2 separate regions of the Homo sapiens genome follow, and region 1 is linked to region 2. Evidence: promoter capture Hi-C in 16 types of primary human blood cells and fetal thymus (Javierre and others, 2016). All regions are on one chromosome and are shown on one strand. The core of a region is centred on a gene start or on the middle of the fragment in contact, and the rest is flanking DNA. Distances in the headings are between cores, read along the strand shown.

Evidence for each region. The method cuts DNA at HindIII sites, captures the fragments that hold promoters and counts their contacts. A CHiCAGO score of 5 or more calls a contact.
Region 1: a fragment that was not itself captured here is called in contact with the fragment with the promoter of TTC21B in region 2 in 1 of 17 cell types (non-activated CD4 T cells); the score reaches 5.5 in non-activated CD4 T cells.

The regions. Positions count from the first base shown.
Region 1 is chr2:177,265,441-177,268,934 of GRCh38, forward strand. No RefSeq gene overlaps it. Among named protein-coding and RNA genes, the nearest start is that of NFE2L2, 2.5 kb to the left of the region's middle. The HindIII fragment of the contact is 1,496 bases long and covers 761-2,256 here.
Region 2 is chr2:165,951,638-165,955,441 of GRCh38, forward strand. TTC21B (tetratricopeptide repeat domain 21B) reads right to left here and starts at 2,139. Exons shown (of 29, transcript NM_024753.5): 1 at 2,048-2,139. The coding sequence starts at 2,068. RefSeq lists a silencer at 1,990-2,389 and an enhancer at 2,154-2,903. The HindIII fragment of the contact is 9,565 bases long and covers 1,754-3,804 here.

The DNA of each region.
Region 1 (3,494 bases), core at 259-2,758, about 11 Mb after region 2:
ACCCAGAGCTGGGAGAAAAACGGGAACCCCAAGAGAACCTCTTCCCACCAAAGCGCAGCCACCACGCCACAGATGGCGCCCTTCAACAGTGTGTAATACCACAACATGCTGTAATCGTTTACTCTTTACAAATTTCTTTTTCACGTACTCACAAAATAGTACAAATTAAAAAAAGTTACAAAAACGTTTGTATAGTATTGGCTCATTTTATAAAAACGTGCCTAGAAAAAAATTGAAGGTTACCAATATATTAAATGCTGTGGAATCAACGATTTTTATGTTTCTCCTTGTTACTTCCAAGTATGCTTTAAATCTGCAGTGCGTATGTTTTATGTCTTACATTAAAAACAATTATTTAAAAATTAATCATTGCCCAGAGAAGACTTCAAGTATTTGAAACGAGGAATATTGTGAACTCTTATAAGGGTTCAAAGAGGATAGATAAATGGTTTAGTTTTGTTTTTTTCTTCCTCTTCTGCATTTACAATCTTTCTAACTCTATACAAGACTGGTTTTCAGTTTCTAGCTTCCTGGAATTATTCAAAACCAGGTGAAGTAGATAATACTGGCAGTGGTTTTGCTATTTCATTCAAAAACCACACACACACCCCTGACTATAGCAATCAACGCCCAAAAAGCTGCAGAGCTTACTTTCTCTAGGTTGCATAATTTGACACTCCCAGGATTTATGTGTAAATTTGTATATTCAGATATTCCTTGAGATAAGTGAAGCCTAAATTAATTACTTGTAATTGAAGCAAGCTTCTTTAACTCCTATTAATTCCTTTCAGCTGTTATGTGAAAACCCTGCAACATGATCTGCACAATGAAAACAAGTTAGGAGAAAACTGTTTGCAAAGGACCTCACATGAAAGATGCAGAGACATAATAATAAAATAACATTTCTGAGTCCAAGAAAAAGACAAGAGTAAATTGTTAACAATTCAAGTTACTTATTAAAATTACGACATCAGAGAAGGTAGACAATGAGCCTAGTAGGTAGGAGATACCAGAGTCATATGACATGGTTACTGCTCTAAAGGAGTTTATAAAGTATTTGGTATTTCCTTGTTAAGCCACAAAATTTCCATTGAGTTTAGACTGAATGAAATAACCTTCACTTTTCCAATGCTGCAATTTGCTGAGAGTGTGTTATTTCAGGCATCTGCAGAGTACATATTTTCAAAGGGAGGGGAGCAATATGATAAGAGTTTGAACTTGTTTAAGAAAAACAAACACTAAGGAAAAGCTGTTTGGCATTTGGTTTAGCCAAATAAAGGGAACCCCATTCTCAAGACCACCCACGTCAAGGAGGTGCCCAATCTTGGCAGACTCTGGAATGTGATTGTCTTCATATGAGAGCCTGAGCCCTTGCTTTGCCCTCCAAACCTGCCTATTGTGTTAGGAGGGCACAGATAATGCATGTTGAGAAGCTCTGGAGGAGCAAGAAAGAACAAGAAAGAGGAGGTGCTGGTTTTTCTCTCCTGTCTTGCTGCCATGGGATCCTTTTTTGCTGCCAGGCTCTCCTCGCTACTATTTGGGAAAAATACCCTCCAATTGGTTTTATGTTCTATTGACTCTTGTACCTTTTCATTGATTCCTGAATCATTTGCTGTCTTTGGGAAGACGGCCTTCCCTACATGCTTGAGATGTGTCAATTGTGATACCTTGCTCCAGATTGCTCATAAAAAATAAGCATCATTGGCCAGGTGCTCTGGCTAACGCCTATAATCCCAGCACTTTGGGAGGCCGAGGCTGGCGGATCACGAGGTCAAGAGATCAAAACCATCCTGGCCAACGTGGTGAAACCCTGTCTCTACTAAAAAATACAAAAATTAGCTGGTTGTGGTGGCATGCGCCTGTAGTCCCAGCTACTCAGGGAGGCTGAGGCAGGAGAATTGCTTGAACCCAGGAGGCGGAGGTTGCAGTGAGCCGAGATCACGCCACTGCACTCCAGCCTGGCGACAGAGTGAGACTCTGTCTAAAAAAAAAGTATCATCAAGTAAGTCTTCTGGGTATAAGAAGTCTGGATAATGGTGATGCATTGACCCCTTAGTTCCACCTCCTTTGTGCTCCAATCTGCCAAGTTGCAAGGTGCAAGAAAGTACCGATTGTTTCAAAATCCTCCATCACTTTGAGGCTTCTTCCTCTCTCTGTCACTTCCTCTCAATTGTTCTCCATGTTTGAGCCAGAAAATATTCATAATCTTTTAGAATTGTAGTTGAAATTCTACTTTGTCCAGTGTAAAGTATAGAAAGCTTCCAAAGATGGCACCCAGTAAACCACCTCTCCTGATATTGAGGCATTTGTCTAGTCCCCTCATATTGAAACAAGCATGGCTGGCCCTGCAACTTGCTTTAAGGTATGGAAAGAGGCCAGAAGTGACATTATGCCAGGTTTTAACCTAAGCTTGAAAAAGCCCTGACAGCTTTTAATTTTATACTCTTGGAAGTCAGCCATCATCCTAAGAGGTCTGACTACCTTGATGGAAAGAGAGGCCATGGGAAAAGTCATGGAAGATGAAACTCTAAATGGAGAGAGAGAGACTATGTGAACCAACACACCAGACATGTGAATGAAGAAACCATCTTGGACCTTCGAGCCCACCTATTCAAGCCCCCAAAGAACTCCAGCTCCAGCTGCTATATGACTGCAGTCACATACAAGAGACTGTAAGCAAGACCGGCAGAAGACTCCCTGGCTAAGCTAAGTCAACACCAAGAACTGTGAGAAATTATAATAAATCACTTTCAGCTATTAAATTTGGGGGTGGTTTGTTTCATAGCAATTGATAACCAAAACAGCATACTGTATGTATGGTGACTATCAAAGGCAGGGTTTCCCCTGGCTGCTCTTTGTTTGTTAACCAACATTGGGAGCACAAACAGGGAGATGATACTTGGTGATTTAATAAAACTCAGACTCTCAGAAGAAAATGACTTCCCTGGGAATGAGGAAGCTGTCTTTCCCATAACATATCTTTGTTGCTACATACAAAGTAAAAAACCTCATCACACCATGCATAAGTTTCATTTTATTAGACGATGGAGAGATAGTCTCCTTATCAAAATACACTTCACGAACACAGACATTTTATCAATGAAGTAGATGGAGGGATAAATGCATACAGAGGTTCTGACCGTGATATGACCTCATTTGTGCCAGTTATGTAAGATACTCGCTGAATATCTGCTTAGGGAGTTTGAACTTGAGCAACCTGCCCAGTGGATAAACTAAACTCCAGTATAGGCCAGGCGCGGTGGCTCACACCTATAATCCCAGGGAGGCCAAGGTGGGCGGATCACCTGAGGTCGGGAGTTTGAGATCAGCCTGACCAACATGGAGAAACCCTGTCTCTACTAAAAATACAAAATTAGCTTGGCATGGTGGTGCATGCCTGTAATGCTAGCTACTCAGGAGGCTGAGGCAGGAGAATTGCTTGAATCCGGGAGGCGGAGGTTGCAGTGAGCCGAGATCGCGCCATTGTACTCCAG
Region 2 (3,804 bases), core at 889-3,388:
CTTGGTTCAGGTTAGGTTATTCAATCCAAAACATTTACTGACTGCCTACTAGTACCCAGGCACTGGGCTAGCTACTATGAATAGAAAAATGAGTAAGACATGGTTCCTGTCCCCCCGGAAAACCTACATTTTTCAGATGAGACTGTAATCTGAAGACTAACTGAAATATAATGTAGTAAATGTAAGAAAAGAGCTTATAAACTCCTTTGGGAATGTGGGATAGCAACATTTTGACAGCATTGAAAACTGAATGTGGTGTGAGGGGAGGATGGATGACTAAAATCAAGGGAAAGATTATTGGGGAGGATTTCAGAGCTGACTCTTGAATTGCAAACCCCTCATTCTCCCTCCACACACGTACACGCTCTTCCTATTTCCTTTTCATGATTCTTGAGGAAGGTACAGGAGTTAGGAAGAGGAACTGCAACAACACAGATAACAAGTCATCAATGGTACATTGGGATGGCAGTGGTGATGAAGATGACTAAAAGCCACTCCATACTCTAGAGCAGGGTTTGGCAAACCACACTCTGTGGGCCATATCTGGCTGGCTGGCTGTACAGCCAGTGAACTAAGAATGGTTTTTATATTTTCCAGCTGTCAAGGAAAAAAAAGAAATATTTCATAACATGAAAATTACATGAAAGTCAAATTTCAGTGTTCATAAATAAAGTTTTATTGAAACACAGCCATGCTCATTTAAGTATTGTCTATGGCTGTTTTGAACAAGCCAATTAGATGTGATAGACCATACGGTCCATAAAGTCTAAAATGTGTACTATCTGGCCCTTTGTTGAGAAAGTTTGCTATTCTCTGCTCTGGAGGCTTAAGTGAGACAGAGAGTATTGGATGATGAGGTTGGAGACGAAGGTGGGGTGAAAAGCCTCATATTAAGTACTTGGACTTGAACCTCAAGTCTAAGTAATGAGGAGGCCCATTTTTACATTTTACATTAAAGTGTTTTTATTAAAATGTTCATTTGGGTGGCAGTGCAAATAATACATTTAAGGGAATAAAAAAATGTAAGGATATAGGGGGATAGCTAGAACAGAGGATAATGTAAAACTTCAGGCAGAAAAACAAGACATTTCAGCATTCCCTAACCTCCTACATCGCCAAATTGTCCTCCATCCACTTATCACCATCTCACAGGATACACATTTCATTTACCTACTTGTTGTCTGACTCCTCCTACTCAAATGTAAGCTCCAAGATTGGAAGAGTTTTTCTTGGTTTTATTATTTCAGTGCTTAGAACAGTGCTAGACACATAGGAGGCATTCAGTAAATATTTGTTGAGTCAACTGAATTAGGGTTTTTCCCCAGCATTAATTAGCCTGTAAAATCTGAGAAGGCAGAAACTGTTCAGTTTTGCTCACTGCTATCTCCAGCTTCTAATGGACATACAGTAACCCTTCATAAATATTTGCTGAACGAGTGATTCAGTGAACAAATGAATAGAGAAGACCAACATCCGAAAAGTTATTTTATTTTCAAGCCTCATGTCTTTAACTGTTTTATATCAGCCTTTCTTAAGTTGACCGTCATTAATATTTGCTGAATGAATGAGTCAGTGATAAACAGAGAAGACCATCACCCTAAAATAACGACCCCTCCACTTTTAAGTCTTACGTCTTTAATGGGTTTCATATAATCTTTCTGCGCTCTTTTTACTGTCCAGTGTGGGAGCTGACACTAGTTTGCCTTAAGTCCTTAAAAATCGCACCCGGAGGCGCAGTGTCATAGGTAACCCAAGCTTTCCTAGTAAACATGATACAAAAGTAAACACAACCAACAGCATGGGGACCAGCAATTCAGAAACACCGAGCGGGCGGGCTGCCCAGACCTGGGCTTCCCCAGCAGGGCCCGCGGAGACCGGCCGTGAGCAGAGGCTGCAGGCCCACCCCGCAACCCGAGCAGCCGGGGCACCGCAGGGAAACAGCGGCCTAGCGAAGCCACCCGAGCTCCCTCCGCGCCCCCGGGCCAAAAGGCCGCAAAGGAACTCCGCCCGCCCGCCCGCTCACCCGCTCACCCGCTCACCCGCTCACCTTCAATTCCTGCGAGTCCATGGCTGCCCCGAGGCCGGGCCGCGGGGCTCTGGGGATTGTCTCGCCGCAGCCTAAAGGAAGACGCAGAATTCAGCTCCCCTAGCCTCCCGGAGCGCTCTAGCGCCCCGGGCCCCAGCGGGAGGGGCGGGGTCGCGCCGCGATTGGCTGTCGGAGGGAGAGGCGGGCCTGTGTGGCGGGGATCGTGCTGTAATGGAGCAGGGGCGGCGGGGACCCGGAGGTGAGGGCTGCGAGGGCCGCCCGGGAGGGTCCGGGCTGGGAAAAGGGCCTCCGCCGGAGAGTGCAGCTGGAAAAGGAGGTCACACTGGGAAACGGCTGTCTGAGGACAGTGGGTGGGCGGGCCGAGGAAATGGAATTCAGGAATAAAGGAAACGGAGTATGAAGAAGGGGAAGTCTGTTTCCTGTCACTGGTTGTAAAGGAAGACACCATTTTCTGCACGTTTGTCTGGAGGCGGATTCCCGCAGTGCGGCTCTCAGCAAGGCTCTGCCGGCGCGGGAAAAAGCGGTCAACTTTCACGTGGGCAAGTTGTTTTACGGCCACAAGGTGGCGCAGAAAAAAAAAATCACACGTTCTTAACAGAAATACGGTGCGCTTGGGCCCGTCTTTGCAGGCGTTGCTGCAATCTTTGTTAGAATGTGTGTTCAATTAGCCCTTTTTTACCAGCCCCGATAATAAGAGGGACAAATAAATTAAACTTCCAGAAAATTAGTGTCTTGTTTTCAATGATACTACTGATTTTAAACTGAGAATAAAATGAATCCCAATGCAAATTTTTATGTTTGCACCCCATTAGGCAACTCAATCAGTCACACATAGATTTCTTAAGTCCAGGAAATTAAATGGAAATATAATAGACTAAGATTTTCTATTTCTGCTTAAATAAATATTTAAAATAGTGCATAAGGTCTGAGATTTAAGTGATCTTTGCAGAATCTTTCACGTGGATTCCAAATTTTGATCCTAGTGTTAATTATCTTACTTTAGTTGACATGATACGTAGTTGCCTTTTCCAGATTTTAAGTTTCTTAAGGAGTTTATAAACATTGACTTTTTCCCCATGCCAATAGGTTATGTAAGGACAGTCTTGAGAAAAACGGTAGCTACCATCCTAGGCTTTAAGGTGAAGCAATATTTCTCACCGGTTTCTCTTTAAAGGAATTCACCACGTATTTTCACGAGCAACTTTTTTTTCTTTCCAATATTTATAGTCCAGCTAAATGTCTGTGGTGATGAACAACTGGTGATATCTCTTTGATTTTCAAAGCTGCGGATTAATCCGCACTTGGTATACAGCAAAGAATACCACAGGACCAGGGTGCTCAATGAAGTGTATAATCTTGAACTGTAAACCTTTGGTTATAAGAGAAAAGTTCATCTGTAAGGAAATATCTCAGGATCATGGTTAACAGAACAGATGATCAACCTACCTTTTGGAGATCTTGAAAGTCATATTAATTTAGCCTCGTATTCTCTTCACTGAATTCTGTTCTAAGGTTGAATTATTTAGCACAAAACACCAAGCCTGATGTTTCATAAATGTTTGTTGGATTAAAAGTACTCTGAGATTTGCTTTGACACTCACGGTGACTTGGTGTGCCCTGTGCCCTTACTAGATCTCATGTAAGAAATTTATTTTGGATCTCAGGCCAGGAAAAACTCTTGTCTTTCCTGAAAAATCGATGTGTTCCTTAGCAGTAACATTTTTATCGGCTCACTTTTACTAGCTACAAACTTTTGA